Regions from separate parts of the Homo sapiens genome. Here region 2 is linked to region 1. Evidence: promoter capture Hi-C in 16 types of primary human blood cells and fetal thymus (Javierre and others, 2016). All regions are on one chromosome and are shown on one strand. Each heading gives the region's core, a stretch centred on a gene start or on the middle of the fragment in contact. The rest is flanking DNA. Distances are from core to core; before and after follow the strand shown.

What was found. The method cuts DNA at HindIII sites, captures the fragments that hold promoters and counts their contacts. A CHiCAGO score of 5 or more calls a contact.
Region 2: a contact is called between a fragment that was not itself captured here and the fragment with the promoter of TMEM150C in region 1, in 1 of 17 cell types (M2 macrophages). The highest score is 5.3, in M2 macrophages.

What each region holds. Positions count from the first base shown.
Region 1 is chr4:82,560,661-82,566,398 of GRCh38, reverse strand. TMEM150C (transmembrane protein 150C) reads left to right here and starts at 4,411. Exons shown (of 8, transcript NM_001080506.3): 1 at 4,411-4,493. RefSeq lists an enhancer at 4,186-4,685. The HindIII fragment of the contact is 8,598 bases long and covers 3,016-5,738 here.
Region 2 is chr4:82,682,632-82,689,270 of GRCh38, reverse strand. All of the region lies in intron 2 of SCD5 (stearoyl-CoA desaturase 5), which reads left to right. Among named protein-coding and RNA genes, the nearest start is that of LINC00575, 65 kb to the right of the region's middle. The HindIII fragment of the contact is 1,540 bases long and covers 4,298-5,837 here.

The DNA.
Region 1 (5,738 bases), core at 3,162-5,661:
AAGGCTTCCATTTAACATCCCGTGACCAGATGTACTCTCACTATCGTTCCAATTGCCCTAACAAGGTTATCTTTAATAGGCAGTTTTGATAACAATAAAATGCCATTCCAATGACTTTCTTTGATTTTTTTTTTTTTTTAGATGGAGTCTCGCTCTGTCCCCAGGCTGGAGTACAGTGGTGAGATCTCGGCTCACTGCAACCTCTGACTCCCTGGTTCAAGAATTCTCCTGCCTCAGCCTCCTGAGTAGCTGGGATTACAGGCATGCACCATCACACCCAGCTAATTTTTTGTATTTTTAGTAGAGACAGGGTTTCACCATGTTGGCCAGGATGGTCTCCATCTCCTGATCTCATGATCCGCCCGCCTCAGCCTCCCAAAGCGCTGGGATTACAGGTGTGAGCCACTGCGCCCAGCTGATTTTGTTGTTTATCAGAGACTACTTGGATTACCAGTTGTTGGATAAGGTTTGGCAATAACTTCGTTATACAGAGATTTTTATTATAATGAAAGTCATTGCAATTGGACCAGCAGCAGGGATTTCCAGAATCCCTGAGAGCGTTATTTATGAGCTGTGCTTCTCAATTCTGTTTTTTCAAATGAATTAGGGAAGTGATTTGAATCATAAAATAACAAAAACAAATTGACTGCCCAAGAGAAAGAAAATGAGCAAGAATATAAAATTTCTTTGTAATTCTAAATGTTCTGTAGTGGTTTCAGTTAGATAATAAATTCATTTATATCAGGAAACCGCCCCCCAACTCAGATAGATGGATGTTTGTGCTGTGCACCAGAGTTAGGACATCAGCCTTGTAGAACAACATGGTGTTGAAATTAGGATGCCTCGTTGTGGTTCTGTAGAATGTTGATGTCTCTGAGTATGGATCTCCATTTGACACAAAATTTTACAAAGTTTGTGGCTGGCATCTCTTTCTGGGCCTTACGCTCTATTTCTTCCATGCCCCAGTCTCTAACTCTGTGCTTGGTCTTTCCTCACAGACTGAATCACTTTGGAACATATCAACAGATCATTTAAAGGTACAAAATGAATATTTGTATGCAATTTTTAAAAAGACAGCCAGTTGTGATCAAACTCCTTACCATCAGTAGGACACACATGAGAGTTCTGAGAATAAGAGGAAGAGAGTTCACATATGAGAGGGCAGAACCAAGCTCAGTGGTGTAGGAGTTCTTGGGAACAGGGGGAGTGCTGCAGATGTTAGACAGAGAACCTAAATCCTTCACTGCCAATGGCCATTCCAGAGATGGCCTTTGAATTGGAGGCAGAAGTGGGACAGAACCTTTATTCAATGTCACATTTTATAATGGACCAATGTGACAACCTCCCAAGTGATGCCAAGGCATAGCACATACTCCGAGAGCTAGCTTCCTATAAAAAGGAGTAAGAGGCCGGGTGCGGTGACTCACGCCTGTAATTCCAGCACTTCGGGAGGCCGAGGCAGGCAGATCACGAGGTCAGGAGATCGAGACCATCCTGACTAACATAGTGAAACCTCGTCTCTACTAAAAATACAAAAAAAATTAGCCAGGCGTGGTGGCGGGCACCTGTAGTCCCAGTTACTCGGGAGGCTGAGGCAGGAGAATGGCATGGACCCGGGAGGCGGAGGTTGCAGTGAGCCGAAATCGCACCACTGCACTCCAGCCTGGGCGACAGAGCGAGACTCCACCTCAAAAAAAAAAAGAAAAAAAAAAAGGAATAAGAAGAGGATGTAGGAAGATCCTCACAAATATGTGCTTGCCTCATCAACACAACAATTCCTCACTCTCACTCCCCAAATACTCAGGACCAAGCTGCCTTGGGGCCTTTAATGGTCTTTGTGAGGTAGAAGCAAGTGCTGGCTGGAAGCCTTCAGAGATTCATTTAAAATTCATCCCCCAAAAAATACTCAAAAGAAAAAAGGACAACCGGTTCTGGAAAAGTATTTCAGTCTTACACCCATATATGATTTAAAATATCTAAGGGTATATTGAGTACATGGTGGACAACAAATTTTAACAGATGGGATACCAAGAAAAAGGCACAGAGAAGCCCATGTTTTGCTTGTACTCTCGAAGCTTCGCTCGAACTCTCATGACATTAACAGAATCTGCTTATAGCAACCAACTCTCCTTCATGGCCAGCATTTTAACACACAATTTCAGCTGGTAATATCACTGTCAGGAATGTAATTCATTTTGCTTTTTGGGTTTATTTGGAGGGACATTTTGGAGATGAAGGCGGCGGTGATTTAGTGGTGCTGAGGAATGGCACTGAGCCTGCGATCCTCACAAACTCAAGTTGGTTTTTTTTAGGAAACATAGGCCTGGCTCTAAATGAAAATGAAAATGTTGAAATAAATTAAACCTGGTGCATGGATTCTCAATCCTTCCACAAAAAAATGGGGGAGGGGAAAGTAAGGGCATTTTACAAATTGGGAGCCCTATTCCCAAGAAAGGGAGTGATATGGCATGGCCATGTCGGAATCACCTGCGGTTCTTTGTCAAAATACCTGTGTTCTGGTTTCCCCCGCCACCTCCAATCAGGTTTTGACTCTGGGTCTGAGGTGAACCCAGGCATCATTTTCTAAAGCCCCCACTGGTGATTCTGATGTGAAAACAGAGTACCACTTCTGTGTTTGAGGGACAGCTAATTCTTTGGCTGGATCTACTTCTGAAAGAATGAATTGGAAGATCTAGCTAGAGGACTCTTTCCGTTATTGCAGAGAGAAATGAATGGCATGGGGACAGGGAGTAGAGAGAGGAGGGGTTCATGGATGGGCCTCAAGCAATCTTACCTTTGGGGGAGTCAGACCACTTTGAGGGTCTGATTAATGTGTAGTTACTCTCCTCAGAAAAGTACACATAAGCTAATTCCCACAAAATTGAGCATATACTTTCAAGGGAGTCTAGACTAAGATTCAGTTTTTGCTTTTGCTATTTTAATTGAATGGATAACAGTCCCACTCATTAAAATAAGGAAAACAAGAGAAGGCAAGATCCCTGGTCTCAGGAAGCTTACAGTCTAGTAGCCAGGAGAAAACAGTAACAAGAAATCAACATACAGAAAAAAAAAAAGAATCAATATACACATAGTAGACAATAATCACAAGAATTGTGGGGAAGGGAGAGTTCTGGAACCGAACGTTAATTGCAGAATTTGAATATGCTGAATTGGAGAAGATTCTTAGAAACACCTGGTTGGGCCGGGCGCGGTGGTTCACGCCTGTAATCCCAGCAGTTTGGGAGGCTGAGGCAGGCGGATCACTTGAGGCCAGGAGTTTTGAGACCAGCCTGGCCAACGTGGTGAAACCCCGCCTCTACTGAAAATACAAAAATTAATCGGGCATGGTGGCGGGCGCCTGTAATCCCAGCTACTCAGGAGGCTGAGGCGAGAGAATCGCTTGAACCCGAGAGGCAGAGGTTACAGTGAGCCGACATTGCGGCACTGCACTCCAGCCTGAGCGACAGAGCAAGACTCCGTCTCAAAAAAAAAAAAAAAAAGAAAGAAAAGAAAAGAAAAGAAAAAGAAAAAGAAAAAGAAAAAGAAAAAAAGGGAATGCCTGCTTGTGTAGAGACAGCAGTTTAAAGGAGACAGGTGTGCTACGGAAGCCCCCAAAAGAATAGAGGGCAGACTGACAAAGGCCGGTTGATAGAGAGCCACCTGTTGGAGGCCAGAGAGGTTGTGTTTGGAACCCAGGCTCATGATGAGCCTAAGATAAAAATGGCATTGATCCATGCTGCTGCTAGAGGTCACTGACATGGTGCCATGGGGTCCCATGGTAGGTTGGGGGTCCGGGATGGGGGAAGCTGTCAAAACGCTGATGAACACAGTTTATGACGGACTCAGACGAGACCCAGGGAGGAAAGCTGCAAGCTGGCGCTGGGAGGTCGGCCTTGGTGTCTGCTGTTCATTGCCAGGGTCCGAAGTTGGCTCTGTGTTTGTTCAATAGGATGGAAAAAAAAAAACCAAAAACCGCGGGACAGCGCTGAGTGGAGGAGAACTACATTCAGTCAATGGGCATGAAAATGAATTTTAGCTGCTTTGTGCAAAAACCCTAGGTGTGCGGACGAAAGAGAGCCAGGCAGAAGGTTACAACAGGTCAGGAATAAATAACCACCAGGCGGAGGATCCAAGATTCTGTCCTTCCTTTTGTTGGATGAGGAGCGCCAGGCAAACGCGTCCACAAAGGCTTCGGAAGGAAGCGGCTCGCCCGCCCACACCCGGCTCCTGCCCCGGGTGACTATTAGGGGCCCCGGGGGGGTGGCAGAAGCCCGAGACCCAGGGGATCAACTCTCCCCGAAGGCCTAGCAGCGGGGACCCCAGAATAAGTCGGGGGCGGGCCCCGGCGCGGCAGGAGGGGGCCGGGCGGGCGGGTGAGCAGATCCCACCCCTTCCTGAAGGAAGCGCCCTACCCGCCGCTACTGCTGCCGCCGCCGCCACCGCAGCAGGTCACAGCCCCTCGAGGCGACAGCGGCCCCGCCGCACCAGAGCAGGTAGGCGCGGCGCCCCCTCCCCTGCCTGGGCCCGTCGCGCAGCCAGGGGGCGTCCGGCCCGGCCCCGTGCGCAGCCCGCAGGCGGAGACCGGGGACGGCGGGGGCTGCAGCGCGGCTGGGGCGGCTGGGTCCGCCCGGCTGCGGGGCCCTGCTCGGCTGCGGCCCCCTCCCATAGCGTCCCGGGCGCGGGGCCGCCCGCCCGAGCCCTCCGCGGGCGCACGCTCCCCGGCAAGTCCAGGAGTCGGTGCCGGCTCTGCCCCGCGACCTGCGAACGCCCGAGCCGGCGCGCCTCGGTCCCCGCCGCCGCAGTGCCGCCAGCCAGCCCGCCCGCTGCGGCCCCGGCCCCGGCCCCGGCCCCGTCCTTTGACAGGTGTCCCCACCCGCCGCCCCATCATCTCGTTATCGGGTGGACTCGGGTGAGAAGCGACCCCAAGTTTGACCTCCCGGTCCCTGTGCCATTCTCCCTGCACTTTGCGGTTAGCCAGGTCAGGCTGGCTCGGGAAGCAGGGGATCTGGGAAGGAGGCACTAACTTGCTTTGCCCTGTGTACCGCCCTCCACTCTAAATGCACAGTCTTCCTTCCTTTCCTGGGCGCACACTTGGGAAGAAATGGGATTTTTGGTTTTTCGGCGGGAGGCCGTGGTAGGTGGGTTACCTAGGCTCTTTGGTAATCTGCTGCAATAAAAAAGTGATTAGCTTTGGGTTCTGGAGAGAGTCCTTGAGTGGTTTTCCCCTCCTTAAATGAATCAAATGGAGTATGAGAGGGTTTTCCCATTTTAAATTCATGCTCCTTTTTTCTCTACTCATTCCTTTCCTCCACCCCTACCCCCACAGCACTTTATGATGTCCCACACATTTCACTGATCTTTTTGGTCAGGTTTATTCCGGCCAGACCGCCTTTCACGGTTGGGCCAGGATTGTGACCGCATGTGGGAACATAGCTCAGGTAGAATGGAAGTCCATCTTCCCGAGTGAACCCACTCCGATGTCCTACATGCGAGGTCCTGTTGGGGAACCAGATATACCAATGCCATGTTGAAAAACAAAACCAAACAGTTATTGGATCTAAAACAATAACAAAGCCTAAATGGCAGGATCAGTTTCTGCATCTTTCTCTGCTTGAACCAAAGACATTTTAATAGTGCAGGGCTATAACTCCATTCTGGGCAGCAGTTCATCGAAAGGATAGTTGAGTGTGGATTTATAAACTCCATGGTAGCAGTCATTAAACTGACCTACTTAAAGT
Region 2 (6,639 bases), core at 3,818-6,317, 120 kb before region 1:
CATTTCGACATGCCCCATCATTTTTTAAGCACTTCCTTTCCGGCACAACAAAATATACTGAGCTCCCCGTGTACTTTTCCTACCCCAGTCCTGGCACCAGCCATTTCTCCACACTCCTGATTCCTTTTAGTGGAGAATGGTATTTTAAAAACAAGTTGTGGGAACTAAATATGTTCATTGCTATTGGGTTATCATTGTTTTCTAGGCCCTTTCTTCCCCCTCAATTTTTAACTCATGGAATAAAGGAGATCTAGTTCAGGAGACTAGAATAATGGTCACATCACTGACCAAAAGCCCTCCAAAGCCCAAATTGGAAAGATTTCCAGAAGACCAACTTATTTGCCAAGATGACTGTCTATGCCATTTTAAAAGTATGTGTTAAATATGTGGTTTTTTAAAAGTGAAAAGTCTTATTTGAATACATTCTCGTTGTTAAGAGATTTAAACAAAAGAGTAATAGAAGAAAATATGAAACATTTCTTTCCTTTTTTTCAAACTTTAAGTTTTATTGGCACTTTTTAAACTACTAAGGTTGACTTTTCAACACTTACCCAGCCTCTAAGACCTATGTAGACCAAGTGCCACATGAAGGCAAGGCAGCAGGTGGCAACTTGTCCTCTCAAAGCCACAATTTGCCAGGTGGTGTGGACTGCTGCCAGGCCACTCTTGGGGACTTTCTGGGATATTCTTACAGATTAGCCTATTATCTGGAGAGAAATAAGTACTGACCCCGTATCAACAATGGGGAAAGCACCCAACATTGTTTTTCACTGTTTGAATTGGCGTCTGAACTGGAGGAGATTAAGTTTAGACCCCAGAGACAGAGATAAAGTCTATCTCTAGTAAGCCTTACAGTTTCTAAGGAGTGGAGCCACCAGTATCTTTTTCTATTTGACCCTCTTGATAGAACAGCTCCTTTCCCAGAAAGGATGCCATTCAGACACACACACACACCACACGCACGCACACGCACATGCACATGTACATGCATGCATGCACACGCATATTTTCTACTCTAAAACCTGCCTGTTCAAGCTGACATGTTGACATGTTGGTCCTGGTTTCTTTTTCACTACTGACTGGAAACAAAGATGTGTTATGAATACAAGTGGAATTCCCTTTGGCTATGTTTTGAGACTGCTTGGGAAGTTTTTTGTTCTGGAACTTTAAACAGCCACAAAATTGAATTAAGGGATAGCAAAACCATCTTGGTGTCTGGTTGGGAGCAAGCAACTGTTTCCAGCTAGGCTAGGGGAAAACCAATCAATGATTCTGGTTTCAGATCTGCTGAATGGGACAAGCTAAATGCTGTTTACATTTAGCCTTCATCTTGCTAACCAGTGGAAATTATGTGGGCCTTAAAAGACAGTGTCCTCTGTTGCCATTTAGATGACTAGATTCGAGAATTTATTTTGAACATAAAAGGAAGCTGGGGAGTAGTTCTGAAGGAGCAGGTTGCTTCATACCTCTTTTCGGTGGACTCTTGAGATTGATGACCTTTGCTCAAGTCCCAGATAACACTCAAAGGCTGTGCGTGGGAGAAAAATCACCTCATGGTCAATTTCAATTTCTACAGTTTCAGTGGAGACCCCACTTAGGTATGTTATCAATCATGGATAGTGAAGTAATGGAGGCACAAAATACAGAATGGGTTCAAGCGAGGGCACTGCCACACCACTTGACGTGTGATTGGTTGATTAGTTGCTAACGAGAATAAAGATAGAAGAAGGATGACATAAAGGTGTATTAACAGACTGGATTGCCAGATGAATCTTAACTGCTTCATCGAGGAGAAGCTGGGTTGTTTTCATTCAGGAATATAGAAATGTTTTCAAAAATAACTTGTTTCTCCTGTATTACAAAAGAATAATCTGTTTATTATAAAAATTTACAAAACACAGACAAAATAAAAAAGAGTCACCCACAGTCCCAATTCCTAGAGAGAACCACTGCAAACAGTTTGGCTAAGATACTTCTTTTGTTTTTCCCATGCTTAAACTTATATTTTTTATTAAAAATGGATTCATAGTGTTTTGAGAAGTACTTTTCTTCTTTCTTTCTTTCTTTTCTTTCTTTCTTTCTTTTTTTTTTTTTTTTCTTGTAACAAGGTCTTACTCTGTTGCCCAGGCTGGAGTGCAGTGACACAATCTCAGCTCCCTGCAACCTAAGCCTCCCAGGTTCAAGCGATTCTCCTGCCTCAGCCACCCGAGTAGCTGGGATTACAGGTGCCCACCACCATGCCCAGCTAATTTTTGTACCTTTAGTAGAGACAGGGTTTCACCATATTGGCCAGGCTGGTCTCAAACTCCTGATCTCAAGTGATCCTCCTGCCTTGGCCTCCCAAAGTGCTAGGATTACAGGTGTGAGCCACCCTGCCCGGCGAAGAAGTACTTTTCTTTTAACTACTTTTACCTTCATCTTTCTAGGTCAATACTACAATAGCCTTTTTTTTGTTAATTAGTTTTTAATACAACACTAGTAGAATTCTTTCTAATAATTTCAGAGTATAGGATCAAGCATAAAAGTATTTCTCCTCATTCCTACCTCCCAATTTCATTCCCATGAGGTAACACTAAGGCTTTTTCTCTTACTATTTCTTTCATGTATATATAAGCTTTTATTGTATATGTATACACACACAAGTACTATTTAATTAATTTATCACAAAATATTTAATCAAATCCTGTTATGGGGAAATGCAGGGTCTTTCCAAGTTTTTATTGCAGTTAGCATCCTTGTGGTTAAATCTCTGAACACAACCATGATTTCCTTAAGATAAACTCCAGAAAGTGAATTGTTAGATGAAAATATATGCACAATTTTAGGGTTTTTGATATGTAGTGCTCATTTGCCCTTCACACACTTTCTGCCCATTTCACATTCTCACCAGTAGGCAGCATTGAATTCTTAATTCTTCAAACTTTTAAATTTGAAGTATAATGCACACATTGAAAAGCGTACAAGTGGCTGGGTGCAGTGGCTCATGCCTGTAATGCCAGCACTTTGGGAGACTGAAGCAGGAGGATCCCTTGAGCCCAGAAGTTTAAGACCAGCCTGGGTAACATAGTGAGACCCCATCCCTACAAATAATAAAAAAATTAGCTGGGCATAGTGGCATGTGCCTGTGGTCCCAGCTACTGGGGAGGCTGAGATGGGAGAATCGCTTGAGCCCAGGTAGTTGAGGCTGTAGTGAGCCATAATCACACCACTGCACTCCAGCCTGGGTGACAGAGAGAGACCCTGTCTCAAAAAAAAAAAAAGTGCATAAGCCATGAGTTAGACTTGCACTGCTCAGTGTGGTAGTCACTAGCTACGTGTGGCTACTGAGCACTTGAAATGCGGCAAGCCCCTGGAGGTGTGCTACAAGTGAAAAATCTCTAAGACTTGGTACGGAAAAAAAATAATGTACAGCATCTCAATAATTTTTATACTGATTATACATTGAAATGATAATATTTGGGTATGTTACACTAAGTAAAATATATTATTAAAATTAATTTTACTTGTTTCTTTTCACTTTTTTTGTTTTTAGTTTTTTTTTTTGTTTGTTTTGTTTTTTGAGACAGAGTCTTGCTCTGTCACCCAGGCTGGAGTGCAGTGGTGTGATCTCGCTCACTGCAATGTCTGCCTTCCAGGTTCAGGTGATTCTCATGCCTCAGTCTCCCGAGTAGCTGGTATTACAGCCGCGTACCACCATGCCCGGCTAATTTTTGTATTTTTAGTCGAGATGGGGTTTCACTATGTTGGCCAGGCTGGTCTCGAACTCCCGTCCTCAGGTGGTTCGCCCACCTCGGCCTCTCAAAGTGCTGGGATTACAGGCATGAGCCACCGTGCCCAGCCTCTTTTCACCTTTTATTTTATTAATTTTTTCTGTAGCCCAAGTTCAATCAAGGGTCATTTCACTTTTTAGATGTGGCTACTAAGAAAATATTAGTTATATTATGTGGCTTGAGTTATATTTCTATTGCAAAGTAGGACTATAGTATGGCGTCTCTGCTAATGAAGCCTACCACCTGAGCTCTACACTCCGGATTTGTTCTGTTCCTACTCCTCTCTCGCTCGCCCACCTACCTGTGCCTCATTTATGCCCAGCGTTCTTAGAACTAATGTAGCTCCCTTCAGTATTCCAATTTTTTATCAGGAATAATCAATTAACATGTGGTGAGAGTGCACTTTTAATGGATTGCAGAGTAAGACTGTGATCTACTGGAACCTACAATTCAGTATAAACTCTAAGTTGCAAATTTAATACAATAATTTGGTAATTGATTTGTTTGAATGTTTAAGTATCTAAGCTTCAGGAATTACTGCTGAGTTCAACATCATGTCCCTACCAGAATATGTACATGGAACATGAACAGACAGATTACCCATACTTGACAGTCAGTTCATGATGGGCATTTGTCATCTCTGTATGCCTTAATATTGTTTTTGTTTCCCGTGCAGCAAAGGTGATGGAGTGGCACACATAGTTTTAGACAAGAGCTATCAGCACCATGCAAACACTAAGAGGAAGAGAGATTATCAGGATACCGCTGGGGGTATGGCTTCCAGTACAGTTGATCTCCATTCACTCCCCGCCTCCCAAGGTTGAGATGGTTGGGCCATCTCTCCCTCCTCATTAATCCTCAGCTTTCCCCTCTTCTTGTTGCTAAAGCACATACTGACTGTACCAAAATGAGCTCTAGGTACCCAAACCTTTTCAACACAAATGCTATTCACAGGTAGGTTCTTTCCCCTACCCACCCACTCCCAATCACTCCAGAGCAGACAAAAGTGCAGGTAAGTAGGGAAGAAAGGTGATTGATTGGGTGAACATATAAATCTTGCTCCCTTTCTGCTCTATTGTTGATGCACATCTTGTTCTTTAATTTCTTTTTTTAATTTATTTATTACCAAGTTCCCAAGAACTACAAAACACATCTTATTCTTTGAGTCATTTTTCACTGGACTCAGCTTTACACTTGAAAACAAAACAATAACAAAGGATTAAAAAATACATCTTAAAGTATTTTTGGCTTCATTATGTGCTTGATTATTTGGAATGTGCTTCATTCCACTGTTATACTTGCTTCATTCCACTATTGCAGTCAGGTAGCTTCTGTTGGAAAGGTATCCAGGTGAAAGGAATGAAAATAAATATCTCTGTTTGAACTTTTCTTCATCATGATGGGTCTTTTCATTGTTGTTGTATTATAATTAATTTTGTGAGAATAATGTTTCTAGCTATTTGAAACTCTTCACTTAGAGTTTCTACAAGATTGCATGACATTGAATTAAACAGCCATGTATTAGTTCATTATCACATTGCCATAAATAACTACCTGAGACTGGGTAATCTATAAAGAAAAGAGGTTTAATTGACTCACAGTTCTGCGTGGCTGGGGAGGGCTCAGGAAACTTCCAATCACGGTGGAAGGTGAAGGAGAAGCAAGCTATGTCTTACTATGGTAGAGCAAGAGAGAGAGCAAAGGGGAAACTGCCACACACTTTTAAACCATCAGATCTCGTGAGAACTCACTCAATATCATGAGAACAGCATGGAGGAAACTGACCCTATGATCCAATCACCTCCCACCAGGTCCTTCCCTCAACACATGGGGATTACAGTTACAGATGAGATTTGGGTGGGGACACAGTGCCAAACCATATCAAGCCAATATAACCTTTTAACAAGATGAAAGAAAGTTTTCCATAAAAGATCCCTCCCTGCAACATTTGGAGAGTAAGGGAAATATTTTGTTGATGGAAATGTGAACTGAGAACCAAGGAAATGCCATCTTAGTTCTATTATGTTTTGATTTGTTGGATGAACTTATATAAATGTCCTCTAAGCTTTAATTTTGCCATCTGTGAATGGGGGACAGAGTGTTCTTTCTATGTCGTGTTCACATGGGCACTACAATAAAAGCAATAAACTAATGCAAAAGGAAGAAATTATTTCTTAGACCACAGCAGTCTTGATTGACATTTGAAATTATTTTACACCTCCAAATTCTGTGATTCTAAATAATAAAATGTTTTCACTCTGTCCAACCACCATGTTTAAATACACTGTAAAATCTAAAGACCTCTTTCATATTACAGTAAGCCAGGCTATAATTTTTGATATACATAAACCGCCATGCTCCTGTTTTCTCTCTTTATATTCAAAGCTGAACATATGCTTGTCGGAACTTTCTGCCTCCTTTTTCTCTCCCCCAAAACCCAAGGATTAGGTGGATTTTTAAAATTTTCGACCAGCCTGGCCAACGTGGTGAAATCCCATCTCCACTAAAAATAGAAAAATTAGCTGGATTTGTTGGCGCACATTTATAATCCCACCTATTCGGGAGGCTGAGACAGGAGAATTGCATGAACCCAGGAGGCGGAGGTTTCAGGGACCGAAGATCACACCACTGTACTCCAGCCTGGGCGACAGAGCAAGAGTCCGTCTCAAAAAGAAAAACAAAAAATTAGCTGGGCATGGTGGCATACACCTGTAGTCCCAGCTACTTGGGAGACTGAGGTGGGAGGATCACTTGAGCCCAGACGGTCAAGGCTACAGAGAGCTATGTGATTGCACCACTGTACTCTAGCCTGGGCAATAGAGCAAGACTGTCTCAAAAAACAAACAAAAACAAAACAATTTCTTCCCTT